Linked DNA regions of Homo sapiens: region 2 is linked to region 1. The links are contacts of gene promoters, found by promoter capture Hi-C in human tissues and cell types (Jung and others, 2019). All regions are on one chromosome and are shown on one strand. Each heading gives the region's core, a stretch centred on a gene start or on the middle of the fragment in contact. The rest is flanking DNA. Distances are from core to core; before and after follow the strand shown. Region 1 holds the start of ULK1 (unc-51 like autophagy activating kinase 1). Region 2 has its middle 27 kb from the start of MMP17.

Region 1 (4,989 bases), core at 658-3,157:
CCCTGGGCTCAGTAAACAGGTCACAGAGCCATTAGTCAGCACTTTGGCGGGGCGGATCTCCCGCCTCAGGTTCCTGGTCCCCAGGACGGCACCCTGGCTCCCACAGCCCCAGCCCTGCCTGCCCTGGGCCCCGGGACACGGAGGCAGCACGAAAGCCAGCTGGTCCCACCGCTTGCTTCTTGGGGCCAGCCGGGCCCGAGGTCATCTCCTTGGCCAGCCAGCGGCAGCCGCCTGTGCCCCGGCCCGGCCCTGACTGCCAGCGAGCAGGAGTCTCCGGCGGCCCCTCCCCCGCCCCGTCTGACGCAGAGCGAGGCCGGCCAATGCCGGCCGCAGGAGCAATGTCAACAAACACACGGCCTAGACAGGTGGGCCAGGCCGGCAGTGCTGCCAGGGCCAGCCGGGGACGCCGGACTCAGGCAGGGCCCCTAGGACTGACGCCCGGCGGGGAGGGGATGCCTGTTCAGGAGAACTCAGCCCTGCCCTGGGGCGCCCTGCGGCCCAGACACCCCCTCCCCGGTCTCACAGCTGGGGAAGTCACAGCAAGAGCCAGCACCAGCCCAGGCCTGGACCCAGGGTGGAGTCTCCAGGGGCCCAGTAGACCCCAGCCTGGACAGGCTCAACACCAGTGCTCACCAGGGGATCCAGCACCTGGGGCCACAGTCCCCCAGCCCGGTCCCCAGCAGACCGCAGCCCAGAGGCCTTACCTGGAAGTCGTACAGGGCCACGATGTTTTCATGTTTCAGTTCCTAGGACAGAAACCCAAGTTTGTTATCAGTGTGGGGAGGGGGGCTTGCCCACGCCCACGCCCACGCCCCCTCCCCCAGCACTGGCTCACCTTCAGGATTTTGATTTCCTTCCCCAGCAGCGTCTGAGACTTGGCGAGGTTCTTCTTGTTAATGCACTTGACGGCGACCTCCAAATCGTGCTTCTGAAAGCCAAACGTGCACCTTCAAGGCCAGGGCTGCCCCTCGCAGGCCTCCCCCAGACCCCAGTCCACACAGGTGGGGCCCTGAGATGATCCCGGTTGGGAATCCCGGGACTGGAAGGCCGAGTGGGGAGCCAGGTTGAGGATCGCGCTGGGGGTCCTGGGGTAGGGATCCAGCCTCGAAAGCCGGCTGTGGGACCAGGTTGCGGGGTGTCCCGGGGTGAGGGTTTGGACAGGAAAGTCGGGCTGGGGGTCTCGGAGTGAGGATCTGGGCTGGAAAGCCCGGCAGCGGATCTCGGGGCGGGAGTCTGAACTGGAAAGTCGGGCTGGGGGTCGCGGGGTGGGGATCCTGGGGTGGGGGTCGGCCTGGAAAGTCGAGTGGGGCTCTCGGGAGGCGTGGGGGGGTCCCGGGACAGGCGGGGAATCTCGGGGCGGGGATGCAGGGGCAGGGGATCCTGGGCGGGGGATCCCGGGCCGGACGGGGGCCTCACCTCGCGGTGGCGGCCCTTGAAGACCACCGCGAAGGCGCCGTGGCCGATCAGGTCCTTGCGGGAGAACTCGAACTTGCCCACGGTCTCTGTGCCGCCGCGGCCGGGCTCCATGGCGCAGGCGGGCCGGGGGCGCGGGGCGGGGGGTGGCGGGCCAAGGCGCGGGGGACTCAGGCGGAGGCGCGGGCCGGGGCGGGCGGGCCGGGGGCGCGGGGCCGGGGGCGCGGGGCCGGGCGAGGGCGCATCTCCGGGGCCGCGCGCCCCATCGGGCAGGCCGGGGCCGGGTCCCAGCCCCGCGGGCCAGGCGGGGTCCGAGGGTCGCGCTCCCTCCGGCGCCTGTGCCACGGCACTCTTCCCGGGCTGCTAATCCGAATCCGGATCCGACTCCGACTCCGACTCCGGCTCCAACTAGGGCCCGGGCTCGGCCCCAACGGAGAAACAAAAGAGCCGCGGCGCCCGGGCCTCAGAGCCTGAGACGCCCGCGCAGCCGCACTGCGCGCCGGGCCGGGAGGCGGGATGAGGGCGGGGCCTGCGGGACGGAGCGGCAGAGCCGGGCGTGACGAACAGACGGGGGGCGGGGAATGGGGCGGGGCCTGTCGGGGGGGTGGGCGGCTGGGCCGGGCCATTGCGGGGCCGGGTGGGCTGGGAGTGGGTGGGGCCAACAGCGGACCCGCCCCGGTGAGAGCAGAGAGGCGCGCTGACCCGGGAGCGGGCCACGGGGCTCAGTGTTGATTCCTTGCCCCACTCCCTTCCACGCCCCTTCCCCGCCCCTTCCCCGCCCCGCTTCTTCTCTGCTCCCCTCCCTCCTTTCCCCTCTCTCCGTCCTCCTCCCTCCTTTTCCCCTTCCCATCACCTCTCTCCCTCCCTGCCCCCTCCCTTCCGCCCCCTCCCATGCCTTCCCCCCCGCTCCCCTCCCGCCCCCACTGCCTGTTCTCCTCCCTCCTGTCCCCCCTCCCTGTTCCCCTCCCTCCCCTTCCCTGTTCCCCTCCTTCCCGCTCCCTGTTCCCCTTCTACAGGAGAATGGAGAACAGGCGTGGGAAATGTTCCCAAAACGGGGGACTGCGCAGAATTAATTCTTAGAAATAGAATGGCTGAGTTAGAGGTTAGGCATTTAAAGTTGAGTTCCATAATGCCAAATTGCAAAAAAAAAAAAAAAAATTGTAGACCAAAAAGTTGTCACCCAAACCAACGACATAGCCCATAAATCCGCTGGGGAGGAAAGGTTAGCTAGATGGGCTGCGCATCGGTCCTGTGGAACACTGCACAGAGGTAAATATACCTGTGCTCAAGGGTGAGTTCTCCAAAGATTATAATTAAGTAAAAGCAAAATATGGAACAGGGCACTGTACTGTCTGTCGTTTTAAGAAAGCGGTAGGATTGGGATGTGTGTGTGTGTGAAACGCCTGTAATGTGTACATGGTCGTTCCTAACTATAATGACAGCTAACTCATCACTTAGGCCAAGCAGCGCACTTTCCAGCGATTAGTGCATCCATTCAATGATTCCACGAGGCACTTGCTGTTATGTCCCTGTTTTACAGATGAGGAAATCAAGGCGGAGAAAAGTTGGAGAATGTGTCCAAAGTCACACCGCCGGCAGCCAAAAGAGCCCGGGGGCTCACTCACAGAAGACACAGCCAACAGCGATTGCTCTGGGAGAGAGGACCGGGGAAAAGTTAGTGCTGTTCACCGTACACGTTGCGCGCTAGTTGGAATGGCTTTCACCACGTGCAAGCACTGCTTTTGCAAATGCATGATTCTAAACAATGCTCACCAACCCAGCCTTCAGTACAGTCCTAAAGTAACAGCCCAGAAACACACACTTCAGCCAGGACCCTCCATGCTGCCTCCCAGAGCAGCCCAGCAGCTGGACAGCCTGATGCCCTGGGCTGGATCAGCAAGTCCTGGATGCCTTTTACCTGCACCCAGCTCATCCTCCAGGCCGCAGGACACACAGACTCCCGACCCTGGACTGGGGGCCAGAAGCCACCGAGCTGGAAGGGACAAGAGGTCTCCTGGCCCACCATGTTTGTTTTCCCAATAAAGAGGTTCCACAGTGCCCCGTAGTCAGCCATAGCATTCACTCACATCCTGGAGTGCCTGCTGCACACCGGCCTGCCCAGAGAGCACACGCTGCGAGGTAAGTGCTGCAGTTGACACAGTGAGAACAAGACCCGCCTGCAGGAGCTCCCAGCGCTTAGGGGTGGGGGACAAGAAGAGCAAAGATTGCACCACCCGTGGCAAAATTGCAAGAGAAAAATGAGTGAACAGGTGGCTACGTGCTGAGGTGATCAGGGCAGACCGTGAGGGCCGAGATTGCTAGAGATGGCGAAGCCTGTACTCCTGGAAAGTACTCAGGGAACCCCAGCCCAGCCCACCCTGGCCTGGAAAGCCAAGCTAACGGGGTCTTCACCCCAAACTCAAAGAAATACCCAGGAAGAGTTTAGGAGAGGGTGGGATGGCAAGATGGGATTTGCATTTGGAAACCGTTACTAGGCCCACCGAGGAAGGACATGTTTCTTTTTTGTTTTGTGCGGTCTTATTAAATTTTTTATTCTTTTTATAACTTTTAGGTTCAGTGGTGTGTGGACAGGTTTGTTATACAGGTAAATTATGTTTCACAGGGTTTGATGAACGGATTATTTCATCACCCAGGTAATAAGCAGAGTACCCGATAAGTAGTTTTTTGATCCTCTCTCCCTCCTCCCACCCTCCCACCCTCAAGTGGGACCTGGTGTCTCTTGTTCCCTTCTTTGTGTCCTATTTTCTTTTTTTTTTTTTTGAGACGGAGTCTCGCTCTTTCGCCCAGGCTGGAGTGCAGTGGCGCTATCTTGGCTCACTGCAAGCTCCGCCTCCCAGGTTCACGCCTTTCTCCTGCCTCAGCCTCCCGATTAGCTGGAACTACAGGCGCCCGCCACCACACCTGGCTAATTTTTTGTATTTTTAGTAGAGATGAGGTTTCACCGTGTTAGCCAGGATGGTCTCGATCTCCTGACCTCGTGATCTGCCCACCTCGGCCTCCCAAAGTGCTGGGATTATAGGTGTGAGCCACAGCGCCCGGCCCGTATATTTTCAGTGTTTACCTCCCACTTATAAGTGAGAACATGTAGTGTTTGGTTTTCTGTTCCTGTGTTAGTTCGCTTAGGATGATGGCCTCCAACTCCATCCATGTTGCTGCAGAGGACATGATCTCATTCTTTTTTATGGCTGTGTAGTATTTCATGGTGTATATGTACCACAGTTTCTTTTTTTTGAGACAGGGTCTCACTCTGTCACCCAGGCTGGAGTGCAGTGGCTCAATCGCCACTCACTGCAGCCTTGACTACCTGGGTTTAGGTGATCCTCCTGCCTCACCCTCCCAAGCAGCTGGGATTACAGGTGCACGCCACCACACCCTACTAATTTTTGTATTTTTTGTAGAGATGAGATCTCACTATGTTGCCCAGGCTAGTCTCAAACTCCTGGGCCCAAGTGATCCTCCCGCCTCGGCCTCCCAAAGTGTTAGGATTATAGACGTAAGCCATCGGCCCAGCGTGGTGGCTTACGCCTGTAATCCCAACACTTTGGGAGGCCGAGG
Region 2 (5,109 bases), core at 422-2,921, 39 kb after region 1:
ACCAACATCTGATCACTGCACACTCCACCCACGGGTGACACACTCTCACAGGTACAGCCCCATCTGCTTGGCTGCCTTTTTTCCCCACTGGAATACAGGAAGATTTACAGAAGATTTCACAAGATTAAGGATTTGGCCTGTTTGGTTCAAGGCTGTGGCCCCAGCACCTGGAACAGTGCCTGTGGCTTAATAGGTGTTCGTTGAGCAAATAAAGAGTGACAGAAGGCCGGGCGTGGTGGCTCACACCTGTAATCCCAGCACTTTGGGAGGCCGAGGTGGGTGGATCACTTGAGGTCAGAAGTTCAAGACCAGCCTGGCCAACATGGTGAAAGCTTCTCTACTAAAAATACAAAAATTAGCCAGGCGTGGTGGCCTGTGCCTGTAATCCTAGGTACTCAGGAGGCCGAGGCAGGAAAATGGCTTGAACCCGGGAGGCGGAGGTTGCAGTGAGCCGAGATCACACCACTGCACTCCAGCCTGGGTGACAGAGCAAGGCTCCGTCTAAAAAAAAAGAGTGACAGAAATGCAGGCACCTGCATGGCACCAGCCGAGTGCTGGGAGGAGCCCAGGCCCCATGGAGGCTCCTGCCAGAGCCAGCGCCAACTGCCATACGACAGGAGCAAGCCAGGCCCCCCACCATGGTGCAAGTGCAGGGGAGACCAGCGGCGGAGGCCAGGCAACCTCCAGAGAGAGGGAGGGAGACAGAGAGACAGAGAGAGAGACAGGGACAGGGAGATAGAGAGAGACAGATGCAGAGACAGAGACATAGAGTCAGAGACAGGCAGAGACAAGGAGAGACAGAGACAGAGAGACAGGGAGAGGGACAGAGAGAGAGAGACAGAGAGACAGAGACAGGGAGAGAGACAGAGACAGGGAGAGGGACAGAGATAGAGACAGAGAGACAGAGACAGATGGGGAGACAGAGATATAGAGACAGAGAGGCAGAGGCAAGGAGAGACAGAGACAGAGAGGCACAGAGAGAGAGAGTCAGGGAGAGAGACAGAGATAGAGACAGAGAGACAGAGACAGGGAGGGAGACAGAGAGAGACAGGGACAGGGAGAGAGACAGATGGAGAGACAGAGATATAGAGACAGAGACAGGCAGAGACAAGGAGAGACAGACAGGGAGAGAGACAGAGAGACAAGAGACAGGGAGAGGGACAGAGATACAGAGAGACAAGGAGAGAGAAAGATAGAGACTGAGTTGGAGAGACAGACAGAGATACAGACAGAGACAGAGAGAGGCAGAGACAGAGAAACAGACTGGGGGTGACAGAGCGAGCGAGAAGGCAAGGATCCTGCTGCTGTTAAGTGGAGAAGCCGTGGGGGTCCTGTCCTGCAGTCACGGTGGAAGGACCCTGACCCGGTGGAGGTGGAGAGTGTGGCCAGCAGTGGCTCTGTCTCCTCGGCTCCTCCCATTTCTCAGCCGCAGCGGGGGTCCTGCCTGCCTGGCCTGGGCTCAGGGGGGCGGGGTGCAGAGCCACCCTGGCCCATCACAGCTTGGGGTGAAGCAGCCCAGAGCCAGCCGCCCCGCTGCAGCCACGGCGCCCTAAAAACGGCCCGGGAGCTGGGAGGGGCGGCCCTGGCTTGCGCTGTAGTCACACCTGTGGGTCCAGCTCGGCTGCCCCGGAGCGGTGTGCTCTGGCGTCCTTAGGATTCCCACGAGAGTGTCCTGCTACCTGCGGTCCCTCCGCCTGGGCAAGGGAGTGCTGCTCTCAGCCCGACCTCAGAGTGTGCCCGCTGGCTTCACACTTGGCTCCGCCCCTCCCTGAACACCTGGGCTCGGACAGCTCTCTGCCAGCTCTGGGCCTCAGTTTCCTCATCTGGGAAACAGAAGTAACCCAGTCCCTCCGCTCAGTGTCGCTGCCAGGATTCAGTGAGTTTGCAGTCGCAGATCGCAGGGCAGGCCCGGCATCTTAGCTGTCACTCATGCTGCTTTGGGGTGATCTGCCTCCCGCCAGAGCCTCCTAAGCCCCCACAATCCACTCCCCACAGGGTTTCTGAAGGAGGCCAGGAGGGTGGCAGGGAGGGACAGGTGCGGCTGGGATCTGGGGCCACCCACCCACCGGGCAGCCTTGGCCCATCCACCCTGGATGTTATGCACTGAATGTCTGTGTCTCCTCAGACATCTTTGTGTGTGTGTGTGTGTGTGTGCGTGTGTGTGTGGTTTTTAAGTTTTTAGTAGAGATGGGGTCTTGCTGTGTTGCCCAGGCTGGTCTTGAACTCCTGGGCTCAAGCGATCCTCCTACTTTGGCCTCCAAAAGTGCTGGAATTACAGGCATAAGCCACCGTGCCCGGCCACCAGTCACATTTTGAAACCATGACCGCTAGTGTGATGGTGTTAGGAGGGGGCCTTTGGCAGGCGATTTGGGTTAGATGAGGTCGTGAGGGCGGAGCCCCCACAATGAGATTGGTGCCCTGGTAGGGGGTGAAGGGACCAGCACTTTCTCTCTCGGGCTTGTGAGGACACAGTGAGAAGGTGCTGGCTTTGAACCAGGAAGCGGGCCTCTAAGAACCTGACCCTGCCGGCATCCTGACCTCAGACTCCTGCAGATTGGTGGGAAAGCAAATGCCTGTGTGGAAGCCGCACAGTCTATAGCAGCCTGTCACGGCAAGCTGAGCTAAGACACCGTGCCTCAGTTTCCCTCCCTGTAACACGGCAGCTGGAGAGGGTGTGTCCTGGCCTCAGAGGTCACCCATGTGGAAGCCGCATGGTCTACAGCAGCCTGTCACGGCAAGCTGAGCTAAGACACCGTGCCTCAGTTTCCCTTCCTGTATCATGGGAGCTGGAGAGGGTGTGTCCTGGCCTCGGAGGTCTCCCATGCAGAGGCGTTGTATAGCACCCATGGGGCTGTGTGTTTTTGGTCAAAAGCCTGGGTCACGCTAAGGGCAGCCAGTGCCTTGGCCCGGCCGTGTGGCTCAAGAGAGACCCTGGGCCTCCAGGCTGACCTCCCTGGGGTGGAAGGAAGAAGGGAAGAGGTCCTTGCCCCTCACTGGGGTGGCGTGGGTCCTCTGACCTCCTTCGGAGGGTTTTGACTGTGGCTGTGGGCTGGCGATGCCCTGCCTCCTGGGCCTGGGGGCACAGCTTCTCCAAGTTGGGCCAGCACAGCCTGAGGTATAAGCAGTGACTCTGAAAATCCAGAACGTCACGTGAAGTCTCCAGGTGTTTAGATGGTGACTCAGGCGAAGATGGAAAACTGCCTGCTGAAGACACAGAACCGAGGTCCCATCACGAGGAAGGTGCAGGCGGACAGGCCGGGGGCATGGACCACAGAAGGACGGGCCGGCAGCCCTCATAGGTGCGAGGTCACAGGGGTCGGGGAAGGCCCGGGAGCTGTGCCGGGCCAAAGAAGGCTGCCCTGGGTGAGGTCTGTCCCTGCAGCATCCTCTGATCTGAGATCCACTGGCTGCGTGTCTTTCCCAACTCTGACCTTGGGAGGACACCTGCGTTCCAGGAGACACAGAAGCGAGCTCAGGGTGGTCAGCGCCTCCCAAAGGATGCAGAGGACTCTCATGCTGCGGGTGCAGCTTTCTATGAACATGAGATCCTTTCCACAAAACAACACGCCCTGCCCGCGTGTTCCTCATCCGAGACGCGCAGGACCAGAAAAGTGTTTTGGAGCTCAGATTGTTTGGAGTTTGGACACTATATTTGCATTATACTTACAGGTTGAGCATTTTTCTCTGCTTTTCTTTTTTCAAATACTGCCACTTGGCCAGGTGTGTTGGCTCATGCCTGTAATCCTAGCCTCACCTCAGGGAGGCTGAGGCGGGTGGATCACCTGAGGTCAGGAGTTCGAGACCAGCCTGACCAACATGCTGAAACCCTGTCTTTACTAAAAATACAAAAATTAGCCAGGCGTGGTGGTGCCTGCCTGTAATCCCAGCTACTCGGGAGGCTGAGGCAGGAGAATCACTTGAATCTGGGTGGCGGAGGTTGCAGTGAGCTGAGATCTCACCACTGCACTCCAGCCTGGGCGACAGGCTCTGTCTCAAAAAAAAAAAAAAAAAAAAAAAAAGTGAAATCCCAAATGTTCTGTGTGCACCCCGAGCCCATCAGTGCTCAAAAGGTCTTGGGTTTTGGGGATTTCCGACTTTGAATGTGGGGTCAGGGTAGCCTCAGCTGCATGTGCATATCAAAAGGTGGGGGCTCATGAAATGCGTCATGGGCTGGCGGGGCTCCAGGCCCTGCCCCAGGACCCAGCACGGCCACCCCACTGCCAGAGGGAGGTGGGCTGCAGCATGGAGAGGCAAGTTCAGAGCAGCCCCCCTGCCCCGCCTACGGTTCACCTCTTCACCAGAGATAGGACCGGCAGAAGAGGCTTATGACGGAGAGTTTGGACTTCAAAACCGCAGTGAGCCCTGCCAACGTGAGAGCCCGACTCAGCAGACAAGGCCCACAGCCGGCTTTGCACTGGGGCACGACCCAGGACGTGGGGACCACGGGGCTGGGCCAGCTGCACGGGGGAATTCACCCCACAGGCTGCTGGGCAACAAAGCGTGATGAGGAAACACCACTTGGTGCAGGGCAGAGCCAGTGTCCCCGACAGACAGGAGGGAGGTCGGTCTTTCCACAGACTGGTCTGACAGGCAGGGACTCCTCCTGCTCCAGGGAGCAGATGGTGAACAGGCGGGGGACAGAGGACACGGCTGGACTCCATGAGGATGTGGCCTCTCTTCACGGGGAGGTGGCCCGGCTCCATGAGGCCTGGCCTGGGGCCTGCCTGCCCGGCCCTGGCAGCCTCATCCTGGGATGGGTGCCATCCCTGGGATGGGACAAGGGGGCTGTGGGCTTTGGCTCCTGGGTGCCAGGAAGCCTCATCTGCACCCTGGGTGGCCCCAGCCGCTCCCTATGCTGGGCCTGTGGTCAGGAACTTCCTGCTATGTGGGAGTGAATCCCCCACAGTCCAACGGCCACCTCCTCATCCTCACTGAGTCACGTTTGAGGGGGCACCCGGGCCCTCCACAGCCCAGGGCAGATGCTGGTGAGCCAGAGCCTGAGGCCCCGAACCTGTGGCCCGGGGTGCGTCTGTGCCGCAGAGACCAGAGGACTGTGCACCAGCGGGAGGACTGGGCCCTGCAGAGTGGCATCGGCTGCACCCTCTGAAC

What was found. Contacts are between HindIII fragments. The study calls those that stand out against the background at their distance.
Region 2: a fragment that was not itself captured here is called in contact with the fragment with the promoter of ULK1 in region 1 in 1 of the 25 tissues and cell types used here (dorsolateral prefrontal cortex).

What each region holds. Positions count from the first base shown.
Region 1 is chr12:131,891,540-131,896,528 of GRCh38, reverse strand. It overlaps ULK1 (unc-51 like autophagy activating kinase 1), which reads right to left and starts at 1,907. Exons shown (of 28, transcript NM_003565.4): 1 at 1,417-1,907; 2 at 836-928; 3 at 705-746. The coding sequence starts at 1,527. It overlaps LOC124903059 (a long non-coding RNA gene), which reads left to right and starts at 2,371. Exons shown (of 2, transcript XR_007063538.1): 1 at 2,371-2,682; 2 at 2,954-3,471. RefSeq lists silencers at 91-150, 181-240, 211-505, 1,648-2,157, 2,188-2,237 and 1 more. The HindIII fragment of the contact is 30,695 bases long and covers 1-4,989 here.
Region 2 is chr12:131,852,386-131,857,494 of GRCh38, reverse strand. No RefSeq gene overlaps it. Among named protein-coding and RNA genes, the nearest start is that of MMP17, 27 kb to the right of the region's middle. RefSeq lists an enhancer at 1,010-1,561. The HindIII fragment of the contact is 9,300 bases long and covers 1-5,109 here.